4 separate regions of the Homo sapiens genome follow, and all the other regions are linked to region 4. Evidence: promoter capture Hi-C in 16 types of primary human blood cells and fetal thymus (Javierre and others, 2016). All regions are on one chromosome and are shown on one strand. The core of a region is centred on a gene start or on the middle of the fragment in contact, and the rest is flanking DNA. Distances in the headings are between cores, read along the strand shown.

Region 1 (3,139 bases), core at 38-2,537, 580 kb before region 4:
ACCTTCATATCTTATACCCATCCCTTAATTTTCACTTCCACTGCCCAACATAGGCCCTCTATCTCGGGGCTATCAGAATAACTTCTACACTGATATTTCTATTAGCCATCACTTCTAACATATTCTGTTCTCTGTAGTTCAATAAATCCTTGCCAGCCTTGTCTAATTCTGTCAATAGCCCTCTCAAAAATCCCCATACCGGCTGGGCGCGGTGACTCACGGCTGTAATCCCAGCACTTTGGGAGGCCGAGGTGGGCGGATCACTTGAGGTCGGGAGTTCGAGACCAGCCTGACCAACATGGAGAAACCCCGTCTCTACAAAAAATACAAAATTAGCCGGGCGTGGTGGCGCATGCCTGTAATCCCAGCTACTCGGGAGACTGAGGCAGGAGAATCGCTTGAACCCGGGAGGCGGAGGTTGCGGTGAGCCGAGATGGCGCCATTGCACTCCAGCCTGGGCAACAAGAGCAAAACTCTGCCTCAAAAGAGAAACAACTACAACAAAAAAAAAGACAGTCCATTATCACTAAACAAACCTAAAGTTTAGGTCTTAGATATAAGAACAGAAAGCCACAGTGTATGCTGTAATTACATTCCAGTTGAATGAATATTCATTACTGAAAGAACAAGTACATGAAACCGTTACTTTACACATCAATGAAACAATTTGTAGTGCCTCCTTCCAACATCTGCAGTAGATTGAGGTATTAAATCCAAAAGTCAATCTGTTATTCTGCAAAGAGCTACAAACTACCAACCACGTTAAGCATGGATCTAAGAAATGTTAAATACAGAGTAGTACAGAAACATGCGAAGAACAGTCGCGTAATGAAAAAGAGAATCAGAATCTAAACTTGGCTTTCCTTATAATCGTCACCGAGGAGGTCAATAGAGGAATGACAGCATGCATAGTGGGGCGGATTTACCAAAGGATGAAGTCCTTAACCAGCCCAGATGGAGATAAAAAGCTCGACATTGGTCTCTTTAGCTCTAAGAGCAAATCAAGGGCAAGTGACTGCCCTAGCAAACTGCAGGAGCGCGTTGCCCAGGGGCCTCCCCAACCCGGGGAGCTCCCTGTGCTTTTGGGAGGTTTCGCTTGGGCCCCTGCTACGTCCTCCTCGCCAGGAGCTGAGCTACTGACCGACTTGACAGCCGCTTCCTGCTCGTCCACCGCCAGGGCCCACGAGTCGGTGGCCATAGTCCCGGACAAGGGAGACCCACTTGTGAAAATATGCGCTGCACCACGTCGCAACGCGGGCCCTAACCTCGCCACCGGCGCGAGAATGCACCTCACGCGGACCGGAAGCGGCGGTGAGCACAGGTGACGTCAGTTCCCACCCAGCGTGCGACATCATCATTCTGCGCGGCGCCAGGTCTCTCCTCGGGCCTCGCCTTTCCCTTCGTGCGCAAACCTCGCGCTTTTTGCTCACCCTTCCAGGACGCGGCCTCCTCGCTTCTTAAAATGTCTGAGCTCTACGAAGTGGAACTGTTAGCCCTCCGTTTATTGCCTTACTTCACACTGAAATAAGCCAACGTTTATTTTATTTTATTTATTTTATTATTTATTTTATTATTTTTTTTCGAGACGGAGTCTCGCTCTGTCCCAGGCTGGAGTGCCGTGGCGGGATCTCGACTCACTGCAACCTCCGCCTCCGTGTTCAAGCTATTCTACCTCAGCCTCCCGAGTAGCTGGGATTACAGGTGCCCGCCACCACGCCCGGCTAATTTTTGTATTTTTAGTAGAGATGGGGTTTCACCATGTTGGCCAGGCTGATCTCGAACTGCTGACCTTGTGATCCTCCCGCCTCAGCCTCCCAAAGTGTTGGGATTACAGGCGTGAGCCACCGCGCCCGGCCCCCAACGTTTCTTTTTAAGCCTGTCATATCTCACATTAAATGTGTAAGTCTCTGAACTGTAGGGCTTTGAACAAAGGAAAGTTCCATGAGAATACTATATGATGCCAATTTCTACTGTTAGGAACGCGATAACAGGTAAGAAAACAAAAACCAAAACGCAACAGAAGACCCGTAAACCCCATAATTCCACCATCCAATAAACACAACACACAATGCGTTTTTTCGTTTCTTTTTTGAGTCAGGGTCTCATTGTGTCGCCCAGGCTGGAATGCAGTGGTGTGATCTCGGCTCACTGCACCCTTGACCTCCCACCTCAGCCTCCCAGGTAGCTGGGCCCACAGGCCCGCACCACCACTCCTGGCTAGTTTTTAAACTTTTTGCAGAGACGGAAGTCTTCATTATATTGCTCAGGCTGCTTTTGATCTCCTGCTAACTCCAGAGATCCTCCTGCCTTGGCCTCTCAAAGTGTTGGGATTACAGGCATGAGCCACCACACCTGGCCATTATGTTGAAGGACCACCAAATACATAATGTATAATCTATTTATATGAGATTCAAGAATAGGACAAATAAAATCTATGCTGATAAAAACTAACAGAGCTTACCTGTGGAGAAGGATGTTTGGTCCAGACACAAGAGAACTTCCTGGGTGATAGAATTATTCTGTATCTTGATTGGGACCTGGTTACATAGATGTGTAAATTTGTTAAGTCATGCTACTTTGTATTTCTAAACTCATGGAACCATTATTTACAGATATCACCCAGGCTGGAGTGCAGTGGCCGGGTCTTGGCTCACTGCAACCTCTGCTTCCTGGATTCAAGCGGTTCTCCTGCCTCAGCCTCCCAAGTAGCTGGGATTACAGGCACACGCCACCACGCCCAGATAATGTTTGTATTTTTAGTAGAGATGGAGTTTCACCACGTTGGCTAGGCTGGCCTTGAACTCCTGAGCTCAAGGATCTGCCTGCCTGGGCCGCCCAAAGTGCTGGGATTACAGGTGTGAGCCACAGTGCTGACCTGCTTTTTCTTTTTTATAAGCAGTTCCCAAGGAAGAATAACTGTTTTTGTTTGTTTTTTGTGACAGGGTCTTGCTCTGTCACCTAGGCTGGAATGCAGTGGCACGTTCACAGCTCACTGCAGCCTTGATCTCCCAGACTCAAGTGATCCTCGCACCTCAGCTCCCCAGCAGCTGGGAATATAGCACTTCGCCACCACCCCTGGCTAATTTTTGTGTGAGAACTTGTGCATTTAAAATATCATGGTATATAAATTATACCTTTC
Region 2 (3,066 bases), core at 51-2,550, 530 kb before region 4:
TTTGTAAAAAGGGGACTCCAGCTGACCTCATACACAGTTTAAAAATCAAATGAAATAAGCATGTGAAATGTTTGATGCAATGCCTCACGTATAAATACATACATATTTTTCAGACAGGGCCTCGCTCTGTCGCCCAAGGAATGCAGTGTCACGATCAGGGCTCACTGCAGCCTCAACTTCCTAGGCTCAAGTGATCCTCCCACTTCAACCTCCCAAGTAGCTGGGACTACAAGCATGCGCCACTATGCCTGGCTAATTTTTATTTTTTATTTTTTTTTTTGAGACGGAGTCTTGCTCCGTAGCCAGGCTGGAGTGCAGTGGCGCCATCTCGGCTCACCGCAACTTCCGCCTCCCGAGGTCAAGGGATTCCCTTGCCTCAGCCTCCCGAGTGGCTGGGACTACAGATGCGCGCCCGGCTAATTTTGTGTTTTTAGTAGAGACGGGGTTTCACCATGTTGGCCAGGATGCTCTCGGTCTCCTGACCTCGTCATCCGTTGGCCTCAGCCTCCCAAAGTGCTAGGATTACAGGTGTGGGCCACCGCGCCCGGCCTTTTAAAAAATTTTTCGTAGAGACAGGGTCTAGTTATGTTGACCAGGCTGGTCTCCAACTCCTGGGTTCAGGTGATCTTCCCACCTTGGCCTCCCAAAGTGTTGCAATTATAGGCGTGAGCCACCGCACCTGGCATGTATATATGTATATGTATATATATATATTCACCCTCCTCCCCCAGGCCTATAAATATTAACTTTTTTTTTTCCAAAGGCAAATCGAGGACCAGATGCTGATCCAATCGTACCTGAACTACTGATGTTATTTCTTCCACACCAAATTCAAGGTCTCCCCCGGACAAGTGTAACCATGGGCACAATGTCAGACTCTTTGAGGGCTGTGTATCACTCAGCAACTAAAATAAACAACTATAGCAAGATATGTAACCTCTACCAAACACGTTACCGTCTCCCCTTTTTAACTATGTCAATTGTGGTGTTAGGACTTTGCCTATGGAAACCAAAATGTCGACCTCCGGGAGCCGGGGGCGGGGGGGGGCGGGGGGGGCGGGGGGGGGTCTAACTCGATCATGTGACGCACCCCATCCCACCTTTTCTCGCAGTTGCATCAGCCAAGTTAGAGCCGCCTTCCCAGGAATCCACTAATGAACGGATTCGTCCTCAGTTTGACTGGCATGTTGGTTGACCAATAATATCTCATGAGGTAAGGCGCGGCGGGGCACTTTCCGTCGGCGCGCTCTGATTGGACGGAGCGTGGCGGGTTGTGGTAGGTCGTGGTCTGAGGCCGGTACAGCTGCGCGTCTGCGGGAATAGGTGCAGCGGGCCCTTGGCGGGGGACTCTGAGGGAGGAGCTGGGGACGGCGACCCTAGGAGAGGTAGGCCGCCCTCGGAGAGCTCTGCGGTGCTAGGAGAGCGGCTGGGCCCGCAGACTGGGGGGAAAGCTCCGCAGCCGCAGTGGGCCCCAGGATCAGGCCCCGCGTGGCCTGGAGAAGCCCAGTCTGGGCTGGAGCGGGAGCTGGACAGTGTGGCCTTGCGTTCGCCCCCGGGAGCGCTGCGAGTGTCGCGGCCTCGGGTGGATTTGCTGAGCACCAATACCTCACGGTTGCCAACCTGGGGTTTTAGCTCCCTTGGTTTTAATCCCCTAGGGGCGGGTGGGGGCACGGGAGGAAGGATGGGCCAGCTGGGTGCAATCCTGCTGTAAGCCAGCCATTCCTTGATTTCTTAAAATTAACTAAACAGCTGATGCCGGTCCAGGCGCACCGAGACCGTCATCTTAAGCTGTTCTGTAAAACAGTTTGTATTTCTCGGTGTGCTTTGAAGCATGTGAGTTAATTCCGAACTTGGTGTTAAAGGATTAGTATACCTGATCACGAAATACGTATTTAGCAGCCACTGTACTAGATGCTGAGGATGTGCTGTAATAGCCCAGGGCCAGGCGCGGAGGCTCACGCCTGTAATCCCAGCGCTTTGGGAGGTCGAGGCGGGCGGATCACCTGAGGTCAGGGGTTCGAGACTAGCCTGGCCAACATGGTGAAACCCCGTCTTTACTAAAAATACAAAAATTAGCCGAGCGTGGCGGCGCGCGCCTGTACTCTCAGCCACTCCGGAGGCTGAGGCATGAGAATCGCTTGAACCCGGCAGGCGGAGGTTGCAGTGAGCTGAGATCACACCATTGCACTCCAGCCTGGGTGACAGAGGGAGACTCCGTTTCAAAAAAAAAAAAAAAAAAAGAGCCCAGAACAGTCGTTGCTGCTGGGATGGAACTGACAGCCTGATGGGGGAGGCGCACATTAAACAATCCATGAAGCGCGTATGGAAATTATGAAGGGAAACACTTGAGGCTGTGAGACAGTAAAAGAGGGGGAGCCTTATCAAGAAGGGGAAGGCGGCCGGGCGCGGTGGCTCACGCCTGTAATCCCAGCACTTGGGGAGGCCGAGGTGGGCAGATCACGAGGTCAGGAGATTGAGACCATCCTGGCTAACACGGTGAAACCCCATCTCTACCAAATATACAAAAATAGCCGGGCGTGGTGACTGGCGCCCGTAGTCCCAGTAGTCCCAGCTACTCGGGAGGCTGAGGCAGGAGAATGGCGTGAACCCGGGAGGCGGAGCTTGCAGTGAGCTGAGATCGCGCCACTGCACTCCAGCCTGCGCAACAGAGCGAGACTCCGTCTCAAAAAAAAAAAAAAAAAAAAAAGAAGAAGGGGAAGGCTGTCTTAAATAAGTGTCTTGGCCGGGCGCGGTAGCTCACCCCTGTAATCCCAGCACTTTGGGAGGCCGAGGCGGGCAGATCGCCTGAGGTCAGGAGGTCGAGACCAGCCTGACCAACATGGAGAAACCCCGTCTCTACTAAAAATACAAAATTAGCTAGGTGTGGTGGCACATGCCTGTATTCCCAGCTACTCAGGAGGCTGAGGCAGGAGAATCGCTTGAAGCCGGGAGGTGGAGATTGCGGTGAGCCGAGGTTGCGCACCATTGCACTCCAGCCTGGGCTACAAGAGCGAAACACCGTCTCAAAAAAAAGAAAAAGTGTCTTTACGTTTGTTGTTGTTTGAG
Region 3 (3,367 bases), core at 669-3,168, 990 kb before region 4:
TAGATGCAAAGAAAAGAAATGAGAACCACCTTTCTGGAAAAATTGGAAAGTAGGATTCCGAGGACAGTATTCATGGCAGTGGTAACGTTTCTAGTTTGGGAACCCACTCACTGCATGAAGAACATGGGCCACCCATCACACCCACTGTGGCACGGCCATGACTCAGGAGGAAAGGATGGTAGGGGGCAAGGTCTAGGGAGTGGTGTAAGGGCATCTGAAAAGGAGCTTTTGTTGTAAGTTTCGTAAGGTACACCATGGGTACAGCGATGTACCCGGTCCAAGGTGGCCCGGTGCCTCCCCAACCCAGTGGTACCTGGGTTGAGGACAGGTAGCAGAAGTGCCTGACCCATGGGGTAGAACCCCAAGGGCTGTCCCAGCCTCTGCTGAGTCCTGAGGGGAGAGGAATGGGGCGCCTTGAGGGGCTCTTCACTGGTGGCAGATGCCCTATCCAGCCCTCCTTGGTCTTGGGCCTCTCAGCCCCTCACCAGCAGGGTAGGCGCTGGGAAGCACCCCCTGCCATGCCCTAGACTGTATTTTAAGGTGCGATTTGCTTTGGTAGGGGAGGAAGGGGAGAGTTCATTTGTTTTCATGGTGCAGGTCCCAGGAGAAATGGATCGGAAAAACTCAGGAGGTTCAGAGATCTGAAAGGAGAGCACTCACTGGGGCCAGGCCGAGTTGCCAGAAAGAGAAGCAGATCGGGGCTTGCCTAGGAGCCCAGAGGAACGGCCCAACTTGGGCTGGCAGTGCCACTGCTGCTGCCACGCCTGCCTGGAGCCTCAGCCCAGCCCAGAGCAGAGCAGAGCAGAGCTGGGGTGAGGCTGCCTGGCTTCCTGCCTCAGGGCAGAAGCAGCCCTGTGTATCACCCCAGCGTGCCCCTTTCCTTCTCCAGCCTCATGCCATCCGGTCCACAGATGTACTCCCTTACCTTATCCTTCCCAAGCAGTCCTTGTCACCGTGGTCAGGTGGGTTGGCCAGCTGGGTCCCAGGGCTCATCTGCCTGCTTTAAAGGGATTTAATTCTTGATGACACGGACTTTGGCCTGGGGTCCCACCTGGGGGAAGCCCCAAACCCCCGAGCTGTGCTGTGAGGAATGGTGGGAGGAAGCAGAGTGCCCCTAGGTTCCCAGGTGGCTGGGGCTGCTCTCTCCCGTCCCCCAAAGAGAGGAGCTGTTACTGCCATCCCTCAGTGTCTACCCCAAAATGGGGGCTTCCACTAAAGTAGAGGCCCCTTCATTTGAGGGCAGCTTAGAGAGCCAATGACGGCCCCTCCACCACCCCCGCTGCAGCTTTCTTTAGGAACCGTGGTGGGTCATGTGTCAACCCCTCGTATCAGTGGGAGGAGACTAGGAGGAGGAGAGGGCCCCAGCTGAAGTCTGCGGGGCTTGTGCCCCATTCTGAGTGCATTGCATCTGTGTCTTAATGAATCCACATGGTGGTCCAGGAGTGATCTTAGTTACCCCGAGGTGTGAGGAGGATCACTTGCCTAAGGTCACACTGTCAGCCAGAATTGACAGTCAAATCTGTCTGATTCCAGAGCATCTAAAACCTCACACAAGGTGTCACCTCACTGCAGAGCAGGGACCCGGCCCAGGGTGGAGGCACTGCCTTATCCAGGCCCAGGCCCTCCGCTGACCCCATAGGGTTTTGTCCTTGGCTGACCTTCAGTTCTAAATGCACCTTCTCCCTCTGTGCATTTAACTTTGACCTCATTCTCCTGCACCTTCCTTCCCAGGCCCCATGGGCTGTCCCTGGCTGCTCACTGACCTGGTGGCCCCTAGCCCCCCTCCAGGGCTCAGTCCAGAAGCCCTCTCCATCTTCCACCTGGCTGACCTTCTCCCAGAAGCGCTGAGGCCGGTGGCCAGGCCTGCTGCAGGGTGGTGTAGAAGCCGCCTGGGTGCAGATCAGGAGGGCCAGCCTCTGCCCCCACGCTGCCCGGCTCTCCACGGGACCAGGCAGGTCACATGACACCGCCTCACCTCGGTTTTCTTCCCAGGGTACTGGGGTTGGACTGGATGGTCTGAGATCCCTTCCAGCCCTGAATCTGTGTGGTCCTGACTCCACTCCCTGGAATACTAATGCTGCCTGCTCAGAAGCGGACAGTCTTCCATAAGAACAGTACTTGTTTTTCCTCCTCAGATTCTTGCCTCAGTGTTCACTTCCCTCCAATTTTCATTCCATCCACTCTCCAAAACAAACAAAAACACCCCTCCACCCCCACCTCAATTCCACAGATATCTTTAAAATCAGATCACGCAGTAAGATACGGCCTCAGCCCAGAGAATGGAGGGGTGCCGTGTCGGTGCCCAAAGAACTTGACTCCTCTTGCAAGAGCCCAGCCTGCAGGGGAGAGGAGCTGGGTGGGCACTGATGGCCCGGGGACCCTCTTCCTGAGGCACCCTCCCCTGGCCCTGCCGTGGGCAGGGGACACTGCCCTCTGTCCCCTCTCCCCGCGGCTGTCCCTGCAGCTTCTTTTGGGGGCTTCTGAGAACAAGTGAGAGGGAGTCATGTGCCAGGGAGAAGGGCCACCGCCAGCCAGCAAAGCAGCTAGACTCCAGCCACGGCCCTGAGCCTTCCTCCTCGGGGACAGCTAGGTCCCAGGCCCAGCAGAGGTACCAGCAGCCACTGCTGGGGGTTCAGAGAGGACTGTGGTCTTCTAAAATGAGGCTTGGCGGCAAATCGTTGCTAGGGAAGAGAGGGGAATGGCAAGGTAACAGTCCCAGAACTGTACCCACTGAGAGGGCCTCTACCCACCCCTCATTCTTCCAGATGTTCCCACCTTGTGGTGTCAGTGCCCACAGCAGCCACCCCAGAGCACAGGGGGACCCAGAGTAACTGCGGCCAGCCTTGCCACCTCCTTGCAGGGAAGACAGGACTGTGTGCCAGGAGGGTTTGAGTATTTACCTCTCCATGTTCCTTGCCCTGGGCAGATGGACCAGTGAGGACCCAGAGCTGGGCACAGTAACTGGTATGAATGGATTGGGGGCCAGGAGGGTGCTGCCTAGCTCCTGGTGAAGGCAGAGGTTGGGCTGAGAAGCATGGTGGAAAGGGAGGCGGCTCTCCCAGCGGCAGGGCCTCTGGGGTAGGAGGAACCCCACAAAGAGGAGCCAGCCCAGCCAGCCTTTCCCTGAGGCAGGAATGGGCGCTCTCACTCACACCTCCTAGAGCCAAGCTGCAGGGCGAGTTGCCTGCAGGACTGAGCACACTATCCAGCCCCGGCTCAAGCCACACAGCAGAGCCATCTAAACCAGGACTGTCACCAGAATTCCCTGGAGCTTTTAAAATCCAGCTGCTTGGGCCTCACTCCCGGCCTTCCTCAGTCGTCCCTCAAGCAGAGCCCGGGTGCCCAGGGGCTGGTATTTTTCACATGC
Region 4 (3,193 bases), core at 559-3,058:
GAGTCCCTACTCATTTACTAGCTCTGAAATCTAAAGTAAGGACTTCATTAAGCCTCAGTCTCTTCATGTGATATAGGGACAATACTGACCATCCCAATTTCAAAGGGAAGGTTAAGTGAGATGTTGGTATACGCTCTTTGTAAATGGGAAAGTAATCATGAAGTGAAAGAGACTGAGAAGCCAATCCAAGCCTTTCTCTCGAGCCTGTTTTCATATGGACCAATGACACAGATAATCACAAGCTTCTCTGACAAGAAAAAGAGTAGAAGACTTGGGTTCAAATCCTTTGTCACCACTTACGCCGGTGTGACTTTTAGAAATGCATTTATTCACCAAATATTTATCAAGTGCTCACAACATGCCAGGCACTAGGCTAGCAGCCAAATAAAATATGAAACCTGCCCTTGAAGGATTTGCAATCTAGCAGGAAGAGGCCAGCAAACAAGAAAGAGCAATAAATTGTTTTAAAAAATCAAGTCGTCTCTCGTAAGTCTGTTTGTTCCCTGTGAAATGAGAATACATCTTCCCAACCTCACTCATAGGCGCTGCTGCAAAAACTAATTTTTAAATGTTTGTCAAATAACTCCAAAAACTTGAACTCATAATACATTAGGAAAGTACTTTTTCCTACTTGTAACCCAAAACGATGCTGGCTGCTGTGAATGTCCAGTTTGAACATTCGTTCCAGTTACACTGCACTCATGAAACTCCTTTTGCTTCTGCAAATTTTAGTAAACATGAGAAACAGGAAGATGAACAGGCTTTAACACAAGTATTCAATCTCAAAATCATGATCCAGGTCACAGTTCTAAGGAACATAACACAGACCTCTCAGGCACCCTACCTAGTTACAGTTCGTCAAGATAAGCAGTCACAAGATAAGCTAAGGGAAACTGAATAATTTAAACGGAAGAAAGAGAAAAGTCATAAAGCAGTCTAGGTAGACACTTCTCTGTCCAAGATTTCAGCAGTCACTATGTTGCTGAGGTAACGCTGGGCTAGGTCAACAGTGTAAGCTAAAAGCCATTTTACAGGCAAAGTGCCCACACTTATTTTTTTAATTTATTTTCTTTTTTTGTTTTTTAAAGCCTCGATGATGGCCCGTTCAGGGAAAATCTCAAAGAAAAATGAGCTGAAGGGCTAGGCTCCCAAGAAGTGGAAACCCTACCCACGCAGGACTAAGTGGGCGCGAGGGAAGCAAGACGATCAAGATTCTGTGATCCCTCCTGAAGTTTAAAAACTGAATGGGACCGTCATCAAAGTCTCGGGTAACAATCATTTCCAAACAGGAAGGAAGGGAGAGACTCTCAGAGGGGGTCCAGGCAGCATCTTTTTCCCTCTGGCTCCACGCCATAAACCCATTTTCAGGCACCCCCTTCCAGCTCAGTTCCAAGTCGCCCCTTCCCCTGGTCCCGATCCCTCCACAAAGATCGCTCCTCTCCATGCCTGGGAACCTAAGCTCCTCTCCCCTTCCGGGAGGACTCGCTCCAGCTGCACCCTTGGCGGCCGGGGCACCCATTTCGGAGCAACCCCCGCGCGGGCCGCGGCGCGCCCACCCCACTCGGGCGGGAGCCGGGACACCCCTCCTCGGAGGCCGGAACCGCCGCGCCAGGCCCCTCCCACAGGAAGCCGCCGCCCCCCGACGCCCGGGCCGCGCCGCCCCCGGCCCACCCCGCGCCGCCCGCCGCCCCCGGCCCGCCCCGTGCAGGCAGCCAGCCCACCGCGCCCCCCGCGCCAGCGCTCGCTACCTGCCGTGGCCACAGAAGCGGCGCCGAACTCCTCTCCTACTTCCGCCTTCCACCGCCCGCACTCGGGCCGGGTCACGTGACCGCGCGCGGTCACCTGACCCGGAAGAGGCTGGCCAGGCTCGCAGGTGCGGGCCACCTAGGCCTGGCCTGGGCACCTCTGGCCTCGAGGAGGCCTTTTTATCGTCTCTGTAGTTGAAAGTGGAAGGGTTTCTGCTCACCGGATGGTCCCAGGCAATCAAATAAATTGAGGGCTCACTGAATGCCACCTACTCTGCCCATCAACCTTATAGAGGCAGGGACAGGTACTAGCCCCATTTTACAGGTGAAACGAGACCTTCAGACTGTTAAGTCAGCAAATACTTAATTGAGCTCCTTTAGTAGGGTTGCCAGATAAAGTACAGGACACCCACTTAAATTTGAATTTCAGATAAACAACAGTGTAATATGTATGTCCCAAATACAGAATGGGACATATTTATACTAAAAAAAGTATTTTTTGATTATCTGAAGATCAAATTGAATTGAGTATCTGTATTTCTATTTCCTGGCAACCTTATGCCTATTATGTGCCAGGCACTGTTCTAAGATCCAGGACCACAAACATCTCAGCCTTTGTGGGGCATCTGTCCTTGTGACATGAAGCAAAAGTACAAAAGCTTAAAAACTCCTGCTTGGCTCCATAAAAAGCCCCTCCACACTAATCCAATCGCATTCCCTTAATCTACAACTACAGGGCACAGAGAACTTAATGAATTATAATCCAGGTAGGTAGGTAGGTAGGTAGGTGGATAGATAGATGATATTTTTTTTTTTTTTTTTGAGATGGAGCCTCGCTCTGTCGCCCAGGCTGGAGTGCAGTGGTGCAGTCTCAGCTGACTGCAACCTCCGTCTCGCCGGTTCATGCAATTCTCCTGCCTCAGCCTCCCGAGTAGCTGGGATTACAGGCGTGCACCACCACGCCTGGCTAATTTTTGCATTTTTAGTAGAGACAGGGTTCCTCCATGTTGACCAGTCTGGTCTCGAACACCTGACTTCAAATGATCCGCCCACCTTGGCCTCCCAAAGTGCTGGGATTACAGGCATGAACCACCGCACCTGGCAGAGAAATATTTTTTTTAAGAGATGGGTCTGGATAGGTTGCTTTGGCTGGGCTCGAACTCCCAGCTTCAAGCAGTCCTCTTGCTTCAGCCTCCCAAGTAGCTGAGACTACAGGCGAATGCCACTGTGCCTGCCCAATAACTTTATTTATTTATTTATTTATTTATTTATTTGCTTGCTTGAGACAGAGTTTCACTCTTGTAGCCCAGGCAGGAGTGCAGTGGCTCAATCTTGGCTCACTGCAACCTCTGCCTCCCAGGTTCAAGCAATTCTCCTTCCTCAGCCTCCTGAGTAGCTGGGACTACAGGCACCCACCACCATGCCTGGCTAATTTTTGTATTTTTAAT

Evidence for each region. The method cuts DNA at HindIII sites, captures the fragments that hold promoters and counts their contacts. A CHiCAGO score of 5 or more calls a contact.
Region 1: the fragment with the promoter of DDX19A here is called in contact with the fragment with the promoter of WWP2 in region 4 in 1 of 17 cell types (neutrophils); the score reaches 6.5 in neutrophils.
Region 2: a contact is called between the fragment with the promoter of AARS1 here and the fragment with the promoter of WWP2 in region 4, in 17 of 17 cell types (activated CD4 T cells, total B cells, erythroblasts and 14 more). The highest score is 20.2, in activated CD4 T cells.
Region 3: a contact is called between the fragment with the promoter of VAC14-AS1 here and the fragment with the promoter of WWP2 in region 4, in 2 of 17 cell types (naive CD8 T cells and fetal thymus). The highest score is 5.4, in naive CD8 T cells.

What each region holds. Positions count from the first base shown.
Region 1 is chr16:70,345,051-70,348,189 of GRCh38, reverse strand. It overlaps DDX19A (DEAD-box helicase 19A), which reads right to left and starts at 1,287. Exons shown (of 12, transcript NM_018332.5): 1 at 1,142-1,287. The coding sequence starts at 1,198. DDX19A-DT (DDX19A divergent transcript) reads left to right here and starts at 1,443. Exons shown (of 5, transcript NR_039997.1): 1 at 1,443-1,991. RefSeq lists enhancers at 1,043-1,532, 1,051-1,668, 1,669-2,287. The HindIII fragment of the contact is 29,277 bases long and covers 1-3,139 here.
Region 2 is chr16:70,287,740-70,290,805 of GRCh38, reverse strand. AARS1 (alanyl-tRNA synthetase 1) reads left to right here and starts at 1,300. Exons shown (of 21, transcript NM_001605.3): 1 at 1,300-1,385. It also overlaps a transcript of DDX19B not described here. RefSeq lists a silencer at 1,955-2,084. The HindIII fragment of the contact is 11,417 bases long and covers 1-3,066 here.
Region 3 is chr16:70,753,646-70,757,012 of GRCh38, reverse strand. It overlaps VAC14-AS1 (VAC14 antisense RNA 1), which reads right to left and starts at 1,918. Exons shown (of 6, transcript NR_034083.3): 1 at 1,764-1,918; 2 at 926-1,000. The region is part of intron 12 of VAC14 (VAC14 component of PIKFYVE complex); the gene reads left to right. RefSeq lists enhancers at 1,120-1,760, 1,761-2,401. The HindIII fragment of the contact is 11,858 bases long and covers 1-3,367 here.
Region 4 is chr16:69,760,947-69,764,139 of GRCh38, reverse strand. It overlaps WWP2 (WW domain containing E3 ubiquitin protein ligase 2), which reads right to left and starts at 1,808. Exons shown (of 24, transcript NM_001270454.2): 1 at 1,749-1,808. RefSeq lists silencers at 1,332-1,381, 1,402-1,561, 1,582-1,721 and an enhancer at 1,425-2,003. The HindIII fragment of the contact is 2,162 bases long and covers 245-2,406 here.